Regions from separate parts of the Homo sapiens genome. Here region 1 is linked to region 2. Evidence: promoter capture Hi-C in 16 types of primary human blood cells and fetal thymus (Javierre and others, 2016). All regions are on one chromosome and are shown on one strand. The core of a region is centred on a gene start or on the middle of the fragment in contact, and the rest is flanking DNA. Distances in the headings are between cores, read along the strand shown.

Region 1 (5,708 bases), core at 1,234-3,733, 190 kb after region 2:
TAAGGTTAAGATTTCGGAATTGCAGTGAAAGGTTGTGTATACTTGTCAAGCTACCCGTTCAACAAGACAACCTAGACCTGACATGGGTACATGTTAGAATCTTAGTGTATTCATTATGCTTTCTTTTATTAGGAACTATTTAAAATGGATAACTAAGTTTAAAAAAGCAGGTAACTATAAGGAATAATATCAATATTCACTGACCTGCTCTTCAGCTTTATTAAATCCATAATTTGCTACATTTGCTTACATTTTATTTTCTAATAGAAGTAAAAGTTCAGGTAGAGTTGAAGTCCCTGTGGTCATTCCTGATCCTATTCTCTTCCCTCTTTGCCCATATGTGAGTTTGGTAATTATTCATTTTCCTGTGTGTTTTACAATTTTACGTCAAATTTGTGGATCTGTAAATATGTTTCGCAGGCATTTATCTTCTATTTCTATTTAATTCTACAGCTTTTTTGTTGTCCATCACTTGGAGATTTACATTTGTAGCTTTGGTATATTTTAATTACTATTTAGCAGTCCAGTGAATAAATGCATTGCAAATTGTTTCTGTTCTCACATTGATAGAATTTTTCTAGTGTGGGGCCGTTACAAATAATGTTTGTATTTGAGTGGTTTCTTTTTGTGTGTGCATATCTAGGAATGGGACTGTGAGGCCACAGGTACAGATCTGAAAAGTAACTCTCTTGCTCAATTGTTCTTTAATTCTAATTGGTGCTCACAGATGTCTTACTTTTTGCTAATGTGGATATGAATAACTGGTTTTACATTTAAGGAACGTCTTATTTTTAGGTAATTGTAGATTCACATGCAGTGTAAGAAATAATACAGAGATCAATTATACTATTTATTCAGCTTCACACAATGGTAACATCTTGCAGAAATATAATACAGTATTACATTGGGATATTAATATTGATGTAGCCAAAGGACAGACATTTCTATTGTAATCAGGATGCCACTTTTAGAGCCACTTCTACTTTCCTCCTGAACCACTAATGCCAAACCTTCTGTCTCCGTTTTCCTTAATTTTTGTCAAGCACAGATCTGTTCTCCATTTCTACAATTTTGTCATTTCAAGGGTGTTATATAAATGGGCTCAGAGTTTGTAACCTTTTGGAATTGGCGTTTTTTTTCACTCAGTGTAATTCCTTGAAGATTCATCCAAGATGTTGCGTGTATCAACACTTGATTCTTTTTATTGCTGAGTGGAATTCCATGGCATGATTGTACCATGGTTTGTTTAACCATTCACCCACCAAAAGACATCTGGGCTGTCTTCAGTTTTTGACTATTATAAATGAAGCTATTGTTAGCATTTATGTACTTTTTTTTTTTTTGAGACAGAGTCTAGCTTTGTCGCCCAGGCTGGAGTGCAGTGGCACCATCTCGGCTCACTGCAACCTCTGCCTCCCAGGTTCACATGATTCTCCTGCCTCAGCCTCCTGAGTAGCTGGGATTACAGGCACGTGCCACCATGCCTGGCTAATTTTTGTATTTTTTGTAGAGATGGGGTTTTACCATGTTGATCAGACTGGTCTTGAACTCCTGACCTCGTGATCCACCCGGCTCGCCCTCCTAAAGTGCTGGGATTACAGGAGTGAGCCACCTCGCCCAGCCCATTTATGTACATTTTATGTGAACATACATTTTTATTTCCCTGGGATAAATGCCGAAGAGTTTAATTGTTGAGTCATATGGTTGTTGTATGTTTAGTTTTTAAAGAAATTGACAAACTGTTTTCTAGTGTGGTTGATACATTTCACATTGTCCCAGCAATGTATGAGTGACCCAGTTTCTCGGCATCCTCACCAGCGTTTGGTGTCTTCACTATTATTCATCTTAGCCATTGTGATAGGTGTGTAGTAATATCGTGATTTGAATTTGGATTTCCATAATGGCTGATGATATTAAACATCTTTTCATATAGTTATTTGCAATATGTATAGCCCCTTCTGTGAAAGGATTGCAGATTTATATTCCTTTGGTTTCTCCGCTGAGTTTTCAGTATCTCCTGAGAACTCAGGCTCCTTCTAGTATCTTAAGAGCAACTGATAAAATTTTCCTTTAGTGAAGTCTAGAAGAATAGCCAAACTTACTCTTAAAAAATCAAAAACAAAAAAACTCATGCCTACCCAGTCTCATAATTTCTAGTTTGATCTAATTCTCTTTCCCTGGGACCTAATTCAAGCAGCAGATTGTATCAGAAAATTATTTCCATTTCCAGAGTAAAAAAACTTAATGTCCAGATATTTCAAGATAGAAGGGAAAGGATAGCACTGTTTTTACTCAATTTCTATAAAAGCCTGCTTGCTAGCTTGAGTTTTGTGGACAAGTCTTTATATATCATGAAACTGTGGGTATAAAAATGGAAACTGCTTGCTTCCATAGAAATGGAAGGGCTTGCGTCAAAGAGCTTCAGTTGAACAAGGGAGACAGAAAATGCTCTATACTTAGTATAAACATTATAATATAGATATAGTCTTGTGATTCTAGCTCTACAATAAGTGACTTTGGAGGGTTAGATGAAATCTTATTTTGTATTGATTTTTTCCCCCCTATATATAGATTCACTAAAGAATGTATTTGAAGAATGAGTATATGTGTGGATATTTTTAGGGGATGAAGTAATAATTCAGAGACCATGTTTTGCAAACTTGTTCACCTCTTAAGACATTTTGTTTTAGTAAGGGATGATCTCTTCATTTGTATTAACAGGGTATGCTAAATTTTTTTGAGCTGATCTATGTAATTGCATACTAACAAAATTTCTTTTTCCTGCTTTTCAGCTATTCAAGTACACTGCACCCAGTTTTGGTTCTTTGCCAGGATTAAACCCACGATATTTTACAATTTGTATGTGAACCCCGATGAAGTGTTTCTAGGAGATGGCTGCCATGTAACCCATGTTTTGCCAAATGTCTACTATGAGTTTTTCTACCATCCTCATGACTGTGGTATTGTAACTCAAGTAAGAAATGGCTATCTTACTTAAAACCCAAGTGTCCAGGTGTGTGATGTTCCCCTTCCTGTGTCCATGTGTTCTCATTGCTCAATTCCCACCTATGAGTGAGAACATGTGGTGTTTGGTTTTTTGTCCTTGCGATAGTTTGCTAAGAATGATGGTTTCTAGCTTCATGGGGCCTGTTGTGGGGTGGGGGGAGGGGAGAGGGATAGCATTAGGAGATATAACTAATGTTAAATGACGAGTTAATGGGTGCAGCACACCAACATGGCACATGTATACATATGTAACAAACCTGCACGTTGTGCACACGTACCCTAAAACTTAAAGTATAAAAAAAAAACCAACAAAAAAACCCAAGTGTCTTATGGTTCCTTCAACATACCTACAAACTAGAAGTCATTAAGTGTCTATTTGTAATATGGCTAGACTCTTTAATGATCACATTTAGGACAGAAGCAGTTAAGAAAGGAGATGCTAAATGCTTTTCTCTTGTTAGGTGGTAATTGCAAACACTAATTATTCATTTAGTGATGGAGCAGGCGGGAGAGTTGAAGGTTTTGAAGGAAGAAAGTATTTTCCATGCATCAGAAAGTTTTTCAACAGTTTCTCTAACTAATTATTTATTATAATTCATGAAGTTTGGTCAATTGCGACCAGAATGAGGGAGTAACACTAATCAAGCATCAGAAGCCTTTTCAAAGTAAATATTCAGTGATCTCCCAGCCCTAGCCCCTACTCACCAGATATTTTGGGTTAACTAAGTCATTGTGCATATCACTGATAAAAGTATAACTGGAATTTTGACTTAATTTAAAAAGTTTTTAAAGTTAGTAAAATCTTGCTATGATATTACTTATTTTTTTCATTATCCCAAATAAAACGCTAAAAGAAGTAATAGAACTTGATCAGGTTTAGATAAATTCCACAGATTGGGTAACACAGAAAGCAAAAGCAAAATTTGAGGTAGAGTTGAGTGTGCGGAATATTTATTAAGAAGTGTTTTTGGGAGAAAGAAGATTGGGCAAAGGGCAAAGCTGAGCTGTGATGCAGGCTTAGAGACAGCTTTGGCTGACCCTGCACAGGGCTTCACATTCCTGCTGGGTAGGTGATCAGAAGTGGGCCACCCTGGGAGAGGGGTGTGGCCAGGGGTAAGACAGCCCTCAGCAGCTACATAATTCCTGGAGGGGGTGAGAGCTGAAGGCTGAAGGCTATCTGGTAACAGCATTCCTAGCAGCTGGGTCAACAAGCCCTTAGGGGATCTGGGAAGCACATTACAGGTCTAATACACCACAGCAGGTATTAGGGGGGCACTATCAACCTTGATATAAACTGCGGGGGGGGGGCAGGGAATATTCAAATGTTAACTGAATAATCTGGGTGGTGGTAGTATGTTAATTTCATTTTATCTATGCTTATATTTTCAAATTATCCAATGAGAGCAGGATATATCTGAGACGGGAACATTTAAAATTATGTAATGAATATGGGTATCTCTGAATCATCATATCCTCCTATGCTGTCAAAGATTGGGCCTTATATTGAGAACCATATGCTAAATGTTCTTAGAAAAATATTTTACTATTAATTGTCTTAACTCCATTCCACCCCACCCCCCTGAAAACAGCTATACTTCCTGTTAGGTATTTACTATATGCTGATAACTTAATCACTATTATTCTTTACCACCATAATTATTGCTTTTTTTAGAAATAAGAAAACAGACTTAATTGTTTAAACACGGTTTCCAAGGATTCATGATGAATAGAGGCAGCTCCAAGATTCCAAATGTGATTCATATGATCTCAAAGCCCATGCTCGCTTTGAATAAGCAATGTATCACTACAACTGTGTGTCTCAAAAAGAGGTGTCAATTGCTTTCTTGAATGTGAATCACAAAGCTCCTTTCTCTTTTAACTAACAAGTATTGCTTGCCTTTTATGTGCAAGCACTGTGCCAGATTTTAACCCATCTGTCAGTTTGGAAAATGGTCCTGTTTCCTGTGAACAGATGCTATTTATAGTTGAGTGAGAGTGTGACCATTTTTAGAAAGCTTGATGTATCTATAAATTCCTATTTAAATGCCTGTAAGTTTCCTGAGATACTTGAGACAAACATGGGTTTAAAACCTCTCTTTGTCTTGTAGCCTCTCCAGGAAGTTCTTCTGCTTAAAACTAAAATCAGGTATATCTCAAGAGACTCTACTGTCCGATCTGAAATGCCTCTGTCGTGTGTCGTCCACAAGTGAGTATGGAATGCCAAACCCCTGTCCTAGCCCCTGGCTTCATTTACTGTCCAGACAAAAATGCCAAACCTGAAAGGTTAAATGGTACAACCAGTGATGGGAGTTGGGGAGACACCAAACCCTAATGGGAACACAGATCTCTTGATCCTTGGTGTCTTAGTCCTCTGTTGCATTGCTATAAAGAGAAATGCTGGCTGGGCACGGTGGCTCACACCTGTAATCCCAGCACTTTGGGAGGCCGAGGTGGGAGGATCATGAGGTCAGAAGATCGGGACCATCCTGGCTAACACGGTGAAACCCTGTCTCTACTAAAAATACCAAAAAAAAAAAAAATTAGCTGGGCATGGTGGGGGGTTGCCTGTAGTCCCAGCTACTTGGGAGCTTGAGGCAGCAGAATGGCGTGAACCCAGGAGGCAGAGCTTGCAGTGAGCTGAAATCGTGCCATTGCACTCCAGCCTGGGTGACAGAGCGAGACTCTGTCTCAAAAAAAAAAAA
Region 2 (5,562 bases), core at 2,156-4,655:
TACTTTTAATTTTTTTTTTTTTTGAGACATGTCTCTCTCTGTCACCCAGCCTGGAGTGCAGTGCCGTGATCATAGTTCACTGCAGCCTCAAAATTCTGGGCTCAAGCAATCCTGCACCGCAGCCTACTGAGTAGCTGGGGACTGCATGTGAGCACCACTATACCTGGCTAATTTTTTTTTTTTTTTTGAGACGGAGTCTCGCTCTGTCACCAGGCTGGAGTGCAGTGGCGCAATCTCGCCTCATTGCAACCTCTGCCTCCCGGGTTCAAGCAATTCTCACTGCAGCCTCCACCCCCTGGGTTCAAGCAATTCTCCTGCCTCAGCCTCCCAAGTAGCTGGGATTACAAGCACACACCACCACGCCCAGCTAATTTTTGTATTTTTAGTAGAGACGGGATTTCACCATGTTGGCCAGGATGGTCTCGATCTCCTGACCTCATGATCCACCTGCCTCAGCCTCCCAAAGTGCTAGGACTACAGGCGTGAGTCACTGCACCTGGCTCGATTTATGTATGTTTTGTAGAAATGGGGTGTCACTCTGTTGCCCAAGCTGACAAAGAATTCTTATTATTATTATACTTTAAGTTTTAGCGTACATGTACATAACGTGCAGGTTTGTTACATATGTATACATGTGCCATGTTGGTGTGCTGCACCCATTAACTCGTCACTTAGCATTAGGTATATCTCCTAATGCTATCCCTCCCCGTTCCCCCACCCCACAACAGTCCCCGACAAAGAAATTTTAACACAGTTGAAACTGTACAACTATGGAAGGTGCCACCTTGGGAATGTCTGGAAAAACTAAAAAAGTTAAAATGGCAAAAACTCCAAAAATTATTGGGTGTCCTGTGGCATGCTAGGCCTTATCTAAAGCACCTTTCTGGATTACCTGATTTTTTAGTGATTTTTGCCTTATAAAATCTTGCAGCTATTTTCCAACTTGGTAAGTTGTAGAAAATTCATAGGAATGCCAATGATTCTTGTCCATAGAGATGCCTGGTAGAAGTGCAATTGCTCTCCCAGCACCCCGAGGCCAGTTCTGCATTTATTATTTATTTTTATTAAAAATATAATTTTTAAGACAGAGTTTTGCTCTGTGGTCCAGGCTGGAGTGCAGTGGTGTGATCTCAGTTCACTGCAACCTCTGCTTCCCAGGTTCCAGAGATTCTTCTGCCGCAGCCTCCCGAGTAGCTGGGATTTGTAGGCGTGCACTATCACGCCCGGCTAATTTTTTGTATTTTTAGTAGAGATGAGGTTTCAAGATGTTGGCCAGGCTGGTCTTGAACTCCTAACTTCAAGTGATCTGCCCGCCTCAGCCTCCCACAGTGCTGGGATTACAGGCATGAGCCACTGCACCCGGCCAGTTGTGCATTTATTAACATGTTCGTTTCAGCATTCCTGATTGCCTATATATGTGTGTACACTTTGTGTTTTCCTCTGGACAGGGCTAGCTTTACTGGTCTCCTCATTCATTAATGAATTAAAGTCTTTGATGTGTGTGCATTTTATATTTGTAGAGGAGTCATGATTTTACTCTTTTCAAAACAATTATCCTGTAACAGGAACCCTCTGAGCAGAGGCAGACAGGCCACCCTTGATTCCTGCTGTGGAAAGAGAATTTTTTACTCCAGACCCCAATGGTCCTTTTCAGATTCCTAACGTGAAGGGTTGTTCATATCTCGGCCTCTCGCGGAAGACTCTATTTTCTTGAAGCGCGGGGAACTACGTATTCCCACTAACAAAAATCTGTTAAGGGGCAGGGCGCAGTGGCGCACGCCTGTAATCCCAGCCCTTCGAGAGGCCGAGGCGGGCGGATGGCTTGAATACAGGAGTTCCAGACCAGCCTGGGCAACATGGCGAAACCCTATCTCTACGAAAAAAACACAAAAATTAGCCGGGCGTAGTGGCGCACGCCTGTAATCCCAGCTACTTGGGAGGCTGAGATGGGAGGATGGGTTGGGCCCAGGGGATCGAGGCTGCAGAGAGCGGTGATCGCGCCACTGCACTCAACTTGCGCAACAGAATGAGACTCTGTCTAAAAAACAAACAAACAAACAAACAAACAAACAAACAACCCCCAAACTCCCCAAAAATGTGTTAGGGGAAGGAGGTGGGACAGTGTGTATTTCTGATCTACTCGCCTTTCCTAGTATGACCACCAGGGGGCGCGGAAGCCCTCCTGGTACTAAGGCGGGGACAACCTGCCCAGCGAGCACAGCGGGCAGAAGGAAGTGTGCCGGACGCGAGAGAGAACTACGGCCGAGACCCGCGGGGCCGGCTCAAAGCCCGACCTCTGCCATACGCACCGTATCTTTATGGGAGCCGATGAGGTCAGCAGGGAGCACGCGTTCAGATGGCAGAAGAGGGCAAAGTACTGCTAGAATTACAAAGATATTTACAGCTTTTTAACCTGAAAGCACAGAGCAGATCCTATTCTTCAGAATTAAATCTTCGGCTCGCCAGTCCCGTTTATGGATCTCCACTCTGATGAATGTGCCATTTGTTCCCAAGAAGACAAATAGGGTAGGGAGAAGAGGGAGAGGCGGGGAGAAGACTCGAGATAAAGGGACGATCTGCTTTTCGGAAGCAGAAGCCGCCTGGGAACCACCTGCACACCAAGCAGGCTGCGAGGACGGGGAGCGCTCCAGTGCAAAGTTCTGTATTTTAAAGCCCCTCCTCGCTCACAGGCTTCACAGCGAACTACGAAGTGGGTACCATCTCTGATTTACAGACACGGGAACGGGGTCCTCTTGAGAAACGATGCTTTCCCAAACGTCTGCAAATTGTGAGTGCCAAGTGTCTCCACTGGCACTAACAACATCGAGCTGCTTACGTTTCTCGGAGCGGTCCCGATTTCCAACAAGCAAAAGATCCAAATTCTCTGACCACCCTGACCGTCCTGTATCTCCAGATCTCCAGGTCTTTCCTCTGGACACCTCCTCCATCCCCCCACTTTCACTGCCAGCAGCCCTGAGGCTGCGCGGGATCCCGCTACTCGGAATGCCTTCCTCCTGGCGGGATATTTTTAGAACACTCGACTGCCACCCAATGTAGCCCACATCACATTGTCTTATTTGTTTTCGGGAGCTTGTCCCCGCCTAGCAAGGAGTCGGCTAAGAACTGGATCCTAGCGAGGAGCCCGGCACAGACAGCGAATGACCGCAGCCAGACAGTCGCTCTTGCTCTTCCTCGGCCCTGCGGCAGGATCCGCCGGTGCAGGGGCCTCTCCCCGGACTCCACGCGTGTCTGGAGGGCTCTCGGGTTAGGGAAGGGGGCTTTGGAGACGCCCCGGGCGGCCGGGCGGTGGCGGGACGCGGGCCCTTTAAGAAGGAGCGAGGGGCGCGGCCAGGTAGGGGCGGGTCCAGGGCGGATCAGCGCTGCGCCGGCGCCGGCCCGGGAGCCGGATTTGGAGCGCGAGGCGCCGGTGGGGGCGGAGGGGGCTGCGCGGCGGAGGCTCCCGTGGCCTCGGACGCTCCTCCTAGCTAGCGGCCGCCGCCCGCCGCCGCCTGCGCCTCCAGCTCCTTCGCCCCGGCGGGCCCGGCCGCCGCTTCCGGCAGCTCACCTGGGAAGCGCTCACCTGGGACGCGCTCACCTGGGACGCGCTACCTGCCTCCGGGCGCCTGGGCTTCAGGATGAAGGACCGTCTGGAGCAGCTGAAGGCCGTGAGTTTCGCCGCAGGCGGGGTGCTGCCAGGAGGGGTGCTGCATGGGAGAGGGGCTTCCCTTTGCTCCCCAAGTCGAGGCTGGAGGGGGGCCCGAGCCGGAGGCTTGCCCTCCCCAAGCCCCCACCGCTTCCCGCGCCGGTTCCGCACCCTCCCCTCCCCTCCCCTGCGGGGTCATGTGCCCGGTGATTCATCGCTAGGCAATGATTTTCCTGAACGCCTCTAACTCTCCCACCCCGCAAGCTGGACAGTGTCTGTCCAGAGCTGGTTCCCGAAGCGGGTGCTTGGGCCCGGGAGGTCAGGGGTCCCTTCACCACCTGCCCACTGCTGCCTGGCACTATGCCCAGGACCAGCCTCCTTCTCCCTTTCCTGTTTCTCTCCTGAGGTGCTACAGGCCTGGCTGCCCCTTCCCCCAGGGAGCAGCTCAGAGCTCTCTGGTGACCTCTGGAGCTGTGAGCCGGTCACATGCTGGGATGGGTCAGCTCCTCTCCAACCGGTGGTCTGTAATTGTTATCCCCGGGTGTCATTGTCCCCCCCTCCCCCGCCGTATCTTTTGGAACAGCTGTGGTTAGGTCAAAGGATCTGAAGGTAGACTACCTCCAGCCTTGGCTGCGCAAAAGCTGTAAAGCCTTAGGTTACTTACTGTGAGTCTCTGTTTCCTTATCTATCAAATGGGAATGATCATACCCTAGGAATTTGTTGGGAGGATCAGCTGATACAATGGAACTTGATACAGAAAAGGGTTAACGCATAGGGTTTTAAGCCAGATATTCATTGACTCATTCAGTACATAATTATTGAGTGTATTCTATGGGGAGGTCCAGTGCTAAGCCTTGGAGATTCAGTGGCACAGGTTCTACCTTAATAGAATTAAAATCTAGCCCTTGACACTCAAGAGTTTAGTCCATCTACTTTGGAGCTTGTTACAAGTGTAGCAGCTTAGGCCTGAGTCTAGCCCCGCAGAATCAGAATCTAATTATTCATCCATTTCCCCAGGTGATTCATGGGCACATTACAGTTTGGGAAGCACTGGACTGGATTAGAACTGGGGTTGTCTCCTGGCTCCACTGCTTACTGGTGATCCCTTAAAATCCCAGCCTAAGTTTTGTCATTTGTAAAATGGGTAGTTGTAAGGTCGAAATGCAACAGAAGATGCTTAAGAACACTTTTAGGGTGCATGGCACGGGGGACTTAATAAATGGTGAAATATGCTAATAACTGTGAGTGCTCTTGGGAAAATGCAGATGTCAGGGACTGCTGGGATGATGTTACAAGAGTTTATCCTTTTTCTCCCTTGCTTGGATGAGACCTTCATTCCTGTTTCACCTGTTCTGTGTAGCAGGGCTGCGGAGGAGGCAGGTAGCTGGGGAAGTGAGAGAAGCAAAGGGACAGTTGCCTATTGTGGGAGTGGCCTCTCTGCCTCAGGCTTGTGCTTAGTCATCTCAGCCTCACAGCGTCCAGGTTACTGATGGGGCAGAATTTATTGCCCCTGTTTTTATAGATGGGGAAACTGCTGCTCACGGGGTAGGAGGGATGCTCCAGGACACAGAGCCGGCCAGGGCACCACCAGGAGAGGAACCCAGGCTCTTGACACTCTCCACAGTGCTCCTTCCCTTGAAGCACGCTGGTTGGGGAGGCAGAAGGAAAAGAAGAGCACGATTTTGAAGATCTCTCTGTGTCGGCACACCCAGCAACCATAAAAAAGTACAAAACTGAACAGCAGGCTCTTCCATTTATTAGGAAATCCACTTCCAGAGGAAGATACTCCATGGCCCCTTTCAGTAGCTCATTGTCAACAATGAGCAAAGAGTCTTAACTGAGCTTTGAGTTCCAAGAATAAATTTAATTTGCCTGGGGACGCTGAGCAAGTCTCTTTGCCTCTCCTCGGTGCCTCATGG

What was found. The method cuts DNA at HindIII sites, captures the fragments that hold promoters and counts their contacts. A CHiCAGO score of 5 or more calls a contact.
Region 1: a contact is called between a fragment that was not itself captured here and the fragment with the promoter of STX3 in region 2, in 1 of 17 cell types (neutrophils). The highest score is 5.3, in neutrophils.

What each region holds. Positions count from the first base shown.
Region 1 is chr11:59,940,055-59,945,762 of GRCh38, forward strand. It overlaps OOSP1 (oocyte secreted protein 1), which reads left to right. Exons shown (of 5, transcript NM_001395276.1): 2 at 2,793-2,974; 3 at 5,115-5,212. Among named protein-coding and RNA genes, the nearest start is that of OOSP1, 4.5 kb to the left of the region's middle. The HindIII fragment of the contact is 5,072 bases long and covers 1-5,019 here.
Region 2 is chr11:59,751,971-59,757,532 of GRCh38, forward strand. It overlaps STX3 (syntaxin 3), which reads left to right and starts at 3,406. Exons shown (of 11, transcript NM_004177.5): 1 at 3,406-3,665. The coding sequence starts at 3,636. RefSeq lists enhancers at 1,836-2,336, 2,026-2,320, 2,086-2,380, 2,317-2,476 and a silencer at 3,347-3,606. The HindIII fragment of the contact is 11,536 bases long and covers 1-5,562 here.